2 separate regions of the Homo sapiens genome follow, and region 1 is linked to region 2. Evidence: promoter capture Hi-C in 16 types of primary human blood cells and fetal thymus (Javierre and others, 2016). All regions are on one chromosome and are shown on one strand. Each heading gives the region's core, a stretch centred on a gene start or on the middle of the fragment in contact. The rest is flanking DNA. Distances are from core to core; before and after follow the strand shown.

The links. Contacts are between HindIII fragments. The CHiCAGO score rates a contact against its expected background, and 5 or more counts as called.
Region 1: a fragment that was not itself captured here is called in contact with the fragment with the promoter of FPR3 in region 2 in 1 of 17 cell types (monocytes); the score reaches 7.9 in monocytes.

The regions. Positions count from the first base shown.
Region 1 is chr19:51,699,425-51,702,708 of GRCh38, reverse strand. It overlaps SPACA6 (sperm acrosome associated 6), which reads right to left. Exons shown (of 9, transcript NM_001316972.2): 3 at 983-1,051; 4 at 57-80. Among named protein-coding and RNA genes, the nearest start is that of SPACA6-AS1, 7.6 kb to the right of the region's middle. The HindIII fragment of the contact is 3,108 bases long and covers 198-3,284 here.
Region 2 is chr19:51,792,866-51,796,473 of GRCh38, reverse strand. It overlaps FPR3 (formyl peptide receptor 3), which reads right to left and starts at 1,317. Exons shown (of 2, transcript NM_002030.5): 1 at 1,143-1,317. The HindIII fragment of the contact is 12,110 bases long and covers 1-3,608 here.

The sequences.
Region 1 (3,284 bases), core at 502-3,001, 94 kb after region 2:
CGTCCCCGACCGCCTCCCTTACCCCGCAATTTCCAAGTTTTAGATGAAGTCCTTACCGCAGGGAGGGATGCAAGCCTGGGCTGTGGAGGAAGAGGAAACATCACTACCTTACAGTCATGGGAAGAACCCTTGCCCGATGCTCCCCTAGCTAATGTTACAAGGCCCGAAGCATTGCTCCGAGGGGGCGGGGCCAAGCTTTCGTCATAACCTGGGGGCGGGGTCAAGCCGGCTGGGTTCCACCTGGGGCCGGGGCCAAGCCTGAGCATTCCACTAGGAGGTCAGGCCCAGGACTGCTGCCAGCCTTCTACTTGGGGTTTAGAGGGAAACACACTGGTTTTCTGTAGGCCCTGATGGGGATGGGCAATCCAGGTGTATTCCACCGAGGAGGCGGGGCTAGATCCTGGGCGATCCTTGCAGGAGACCAAGGCTAAGGTGGTGGCCCAGTTAGAGAAGAGGCGTGGCCAGGTTAGTAGTAGTCCCGGAAAGGGGCTCAGTTGGAGACGAAACCTTTCATCGAAGGGGCGGGGCCAGATCAAAAATGGTCCACGCGGGGAAATAGTCGTCCCTCAAGGTCTGAGGCTCAGAGATGGGGCCAGGGGATTGTACGGGGAGTGGATGGGGGGTCTCAGGAGTGGGTTTCGTTTTGAGATGGAGTCTTGCTCTGTCACCCAGGCTGGAGTGCCGATCTCGGGTCACTGCAACCCCGCCTCCAGGGTTCAAGCAATTTTCCTGCCTCAGCCTCCTGAGTAGATGAGATTACAAGCATGCGTTACCACGCCCAGCTAATTTTAGTATCTTTAGTAGATATGGGTATCACCATGTTGGTCAGACTGCTTTTGAACTCCTGATCTCAAGTGATCTGCCCGCCTCAGCCTTCCAAAGTGCTGGGATTACAGGCGTGAGCCACCATCCCCGGCCAAAAGTGGGGTTTTCTAATTGTGTGTGTGTGTGTCTGGGGAAGGAGAGATGGAGTGTATTTTACCTTCTTTAAGCTGTGTAATGACCTTCTTCATTTTCTCCGCAGCATCAGGGAAGGCAACCTCAAAGGATCCTGGAGAGTGGAGGGGAGGACGGCCTGTGTAGTAAAGCCCTTCCCCCAGGGCTTGGTCCTTGGTCCTGCATTCTGATCTAGCCTGGCTAGGGCTAGGCTGGCCCTAGCTCACAGGACGTACTGTCATGGTATCTGCCCTTCCCTGGCCCCTCTTCACCCCTCTCATTACCATATTCTCTGCTCCTCTTCTCATCACCCGCCCTCTGTAGTTGAAGGCTAACAAGTCCCTAAGTCTCCTTTCTTCTGCCTCCTGAATCTCTCCAGGATGGAAGTCCTCCTGGACATCACCTGCATGTAGCTTGTTGGGGGGAGAAGGGGAGGATAAAGATCAAATTCCTCACCAAGGCCTATTAGGTCTTACATGGTTTGGCCTAGTTCCCCCTCCCTCCCTGTCCCATCCCTACTGCCCACCTTTCATTTCCTTTATTTTATTTTATTCAGACAGTGTCTCACTGTCACCCAGGCTGGAGTGCAGTGGTGCGATCTCGGCTCACCGCAACCTCCGCCTCCTGGGTTCAAGTGATTCTCCTGCCCTAGCCTCCCGAGTAGCAGGGACTGCAGGTGTGCACCACCACGCCTGGCTAATTTTTGTGTTTTTAGTAGAGATGGGGTTTCACCATGTTGGCCAGGCTGGTCTCGAACTCCTGACCTCAAGTGATCCACCCACCTCAGCCTCCCAAAGTGCTGGGGTTACAGGCATGAGCCACCGTGCCTGGCCTCATTTCCTTTAATATGAAAACCACCACATTCCCTAGCACCTCAGGGCCTTTGCACATGCTGGCTTGTTTTTAGCACATTTTTCCTTCTCCTAATCATCCTTCCATCACCACAAATCTAACCAAGTTCCCTGTTTTTGTCTCTCATCGCAATCATTTCATTCCTAGCTCTCATCTGTCTGCAATTACATATATTTATATATAGATGATGATCACTTATGTCTGTCTCGTAAGTAAATAAACATGTTCTTCTGTAGCACTGTGTCCTCTGGATCCTGGAGAGGGCCCTCAGTCTTAGAAGTGCTCAGTAAGTATTTGTACAATGAATTCCAGGATCCAACTTGAACTGGAGACCCCAGCTGGTGGCCTATGACCCAAATCCATCCCTGGGATGTGTTATATTTGGCCTGGAAAGTGTTTAAAAGAAAATGAACCAGTTGCCAACATATAAAATTTGGAATGTCAAATAAAACGTTTGGCATCTCTTTTTTACAAAGTTGGAAGAGCTGTAACACAGAGATCGCATTTCCATAAGGCAGCAATTAGCTGGAGATGGGTAGCAGTCACTCCCTTGAAATGGGGCACACACCGGCCACTTCTCCATAGTCCCCAGCCTCTATTCACTTCTATATTTACCCATCTTTTACTCTTTTATGTTCCTTGTCTTTGTAGGTGTTTGTTTTGTTTTGAGATAGAGTCTCGCTCTGTTGCCCAGGCTGGCGTACAGTGGTGTGATCTTGGCTCACTGCAACTTCCACCTCCCAGGTTCAAGTGATTCTCCTGCCTCAGCCTCCCCAGTAGCTAGGATTACAGGCACCCACCACCATGCTCGGCGAATTTTTATATTTTTAGTAGAGATGGGGTTTCACCATGTTGGCCAGGCTGGTCTCAAACTCCTAACCTCAGGTGATCCGCCTGCCTCGGCCTCCCAAAGTGCTGGGATTACAGGTGTGGGCCACCATGCCTGGCCTTGTGTTTTGACCACTGCAATGGCCTCCAAATTGTATGGGTTTGTGGCTTGTTCCAGTGGAATAAGAATAGACAGCTGACTTGATCTCGTGGTGATTTGTGGAAATCAGTAATGTGGCAGGGTTTTATCGGCTAAATCGTGCCGCCCACCCCCCATCCCCCGCAACCAAACTTGTATGTTGAAGTCCTAACTCCCAGTACCTCAGAATGTGACTGTACTTGGTTCTTAAAGAGGTGATTAAGTTAAAATGAGGTCATTAGGGTGGGCTGTAATGCAGTATGATTGGTGTCCTTATGAGAAGAGGAAATTAGGACACAGAGATGCACACAGGGACATATGAAGGAAGGCATCTACAAGCCAAAGAGAGAGGCGTGAGAAGAAACTAACCCTGCTGACACCAAAACCTTGGTCTCAGACTTCTAGAAGGCAGAAACTTCTGTTGTTCGAGTCACCCAGTCTACGGTACTTTGTTACAGTGGTCCTAGCAAACCAACACACAGGAATTGTTCACTGCCTCCAAATACCTATATATCTATAACCTATATCC
Region 2 (3,608 bases), core at 68-2,567:
ATGAGCTTTAAAAAGGTCCAATAAGATGGTGATGTTATTCGCAATACCTTCCGATGGCTTCCAGACTTCTAAGTTACCCTTATCTTAGGTTCCCTTATCCTAGGTTCCCTTATCCACTGCCACATGTGCCCTGTGCATCCCTCAGACCTCATCTCTGCACTCTCATCAGACACACTGGGCTCCACCCACTGGGCTCTAATTCCTTGAACTTGCAGCTCTTTGTCATCTCAGGGCTTCTGCTTTCTCTATTCCTTCTGCCTACCGTGCTCTTCGTCTTGAGCTTCCTGCACCTGGCTCATCCTGAATATTCATATTTCAGGTCAAATATTATTTCAGAGAGATCCCACCTCACCCACTCTGCAAAGCAGAATGCTCAGGTACAGCCTATCTCACCAGATACTTTTCTCCTTTATTTGTTTGTTCATTTATCTTCTCTCTTAAATACCCTCCACACTAGTACGTAAGCTCCACAGGACTATCAAGATCCTTCAATGCTACATCTCTACAATGCTACATGTCCAGTAGAAATATAATGTGTTAACTTTAGCTACATATGGGACTCAAAATTTTTTTGTAGCCACTGTTTTTAAAAAAGTAAAACACCTTTGGGGAAATTATTTTAGTAATAAATTTTATTTAATTACATATATGATAAAGAATTGGCCAGTCACATTGGCTCACGCCTGTAATCCCAGCACTTTGGGAGGCCGAGGTGGGCAGATCACGAGGTCAGGAGTTGAAGACCAGCCTGGCCAACATATTGAAACCCCGTCTCTACTAAAAATACAAAAAATTAGCCAGGCGTGGTGGCAGGTGCCTGTAATCCCAGCTACTCAGGAGGCTGAGGCAGGAGAATCGCTTGAACCTGGGAGGCAGAGGTTGCAGTGGGCTGAGATTGTGCCACTGCACTCCAGCCTGGGTGACAGCGCAAGACTCCATCAAAAAAAAAAAAAAAAAAAAAAAAAAAAAGAATGTTACTGGAACATGTAACCAAATTAAACACTGTTAATGAAATAGTTAACATTGTTTTCATACTAACGAAGTGGATTCTTCACTGGACTACGCTACTCCAGAGTTAGAAGGGCTCTGTCATATAGCAGGCATTTCAACAATAACTTTAAAATTTTCAGACCCCAACTTACCACCAGCTTAGATCCTTTTCCTGTGCCCAGTTCCTGGATTCCTGTGGAGCAACTCAGGCTCTAAGTACTTGTAAAAAGATGAAGTTATATGTTTGGTTTTAAGATCTTAATTGGCTTTGGTTATAAAGATGGAATCAGACAGCCTGTCATGCTATAAAACAAAATGAGTGTTTTGATAGTTAGAGCCAAGGAAGTTGGTTTTACAGGGATAGGAGGGCTAAAGAAAGCAGAAACAGAGAACAAAAACCTGATTGGTCATCTGGATGTTGCATTTTTTTTGTGCAGCAGGAATAGAGAGACAGCAATAAGGAACAACTGATTGATTGAAGTCAAGTTACCACAGATTGCTTTTTTTTTTTTTTTGTAAAGATGAAAGCAGACAGAACTTCATGTTCATGCCCACTGAAACTGGCCTGTTTTAGGAATTTGTCCATTTTCTCTCTCTCCTGATTTCTCAAAAGTTCAGATACATTAGTTTTGGTTTGGTGATGTGGAGTTTTAGTATGACTGACTCCATTTGGTTTGCTTTGTCGAACCTAGTACAATAGGTCAGTCCAAACCACTTACTTGCTGTTTTTATAGAACAGGCTTCAGCAGAGACTTAGTTGAAGGACACGGGGACAATGGAGCTGGAATCAATCCAGTGACACAAACTCAGGGTTTCTTACCATTCCCAGAAGACACCTTGGAGATGTTCTCAGACGATTTATCTTGGAAACTTATGTGTCTGAATGTTCCTTCACCTCTAGCCTTCTGTGGGAGACTGGAGTTCATCCTTCCAAATATCAAAGGCCAAGAAATCTGAGAGTCCAGGCCCTTTCTTTTCAGAGATTCAGGAAAATGAAAGAAACAATTACCAAGGTGAGAAGAATGAGAGGAAAAACAATAAAAAAACAAAGATGCACGGTGAAACAAAAACTCGATTCTCTACTTTCACAATCCTTCTGACCAAATATACTTTTTCTCTACACCAAGAAATTCTCCAATTCTCTGGGGACACCACCTGGGCCACCTGCAATTAAAAATTCGGTTATGATGCTGTCTACCTGGATTCAGCTCAGATCCGAAAAGCTAAAGGGCTCACTCCCACAAACTGTTCTCAGATCAGATCAGACATCTGTTGCAAGTCCCAGGTGGCTACTTGTACTTCTGACTGACAGGCTATAAATTGGGTGTTCCAATGACACCAATAAATTGCTAGAATGGCACACAGAACTCAGGAAAGCACTTTGTTTGCATCTGTTGCTTTATATAAGGAATATACCTCAGGAATAGTCCATTGGAAAGAGGCATATGGCAGGTATATGGCAGGGAAGGGGTTGGGTGGTGCATGGAGCTTCCATGCTCTCTTCAGGCAGCCACTCTCCCAGCACTCCTGAGTGTTCACCAATGTGGAAGCTCATCAAATCTCATTGTTCAAGAGTTTTTATGGAACTCAATCTCCAGTCCCTGCCTCCCCTTCCTGGAGATCAGTAGGTGGGGCTGACAGCTCCAACCCTCTAATCCCTTGGTCTTTCTGGTGACCAGTCCCATCCTAAGGCCATGATCTCCTTAGCATAAACTCAGCTATGATCAAAAGGGGCTGTTTATGAATAACAAATAATACTCCTATCACTCAGGGAATTCCAAGGGTTTTAAGAGCCCTGTGCCAGAAATCTGTGACAAAATCAAATATGCTTTGAGGTATTTCATACCTCAGAGTTACAAAGAGAAGCAGTAACTAGGAGCATGTAGAGAGGTAAGGAAGGTAAATGAGAGACACTGTACACTCCACACCATTGCCGAGATTAACCCCCTAACCTTCTGCCCCTAGGGAGATGCTCTATGGACTACTGATCTAAGGAGATGGGCTCTTTCTGAGTTTTTAAACACCATCAGAATGTTGTTCTCAAGCCCAAGGAATAGAACCATGAAAAACAGTGGAGAGCCACAAAACAAGAGTCAACTATTTTCTATTTTCTCTCTGATTCACTGGATGTTTTCAGTGATAAGGTAGAGTAAACCAATGAAGCACATAAGCCATGGAGAAATTTATTATTAAAAAAAGTTTTGGAAGGGGATAGATCTGGAGTTTGAACAAAAATTGAGTTTAATGTCACCCTTCCACTCCATCATCATATTGGTTTTCTTCTAGGGCTTTCTTGAAAGTGACCACAGAATGGCTGCCACTGTTCTGGACATTGCATCAACAGGCCCTCCCGAGCCAGAATCATGAGACAGGCAGAAAATGTGACTCATTCACATGCCTCTTCCATTTTATTACAGAGGGAAACCTTGTCCAGAGTCTCTTCAGGACCTCTCCTTGTCTTTCATTGCCAGAGCATGCCATCTCTAGACCAATCAATGGCCAAGAAATAACAAAAATACCGATACATAAAAATAAAGGTCAGGGACAGTGGCTCACGCCTGTAATGCCAGAATTTGGGGAGGCCAAGACAGGAAGATTGCTTGAGCTCAGGAGTTCAA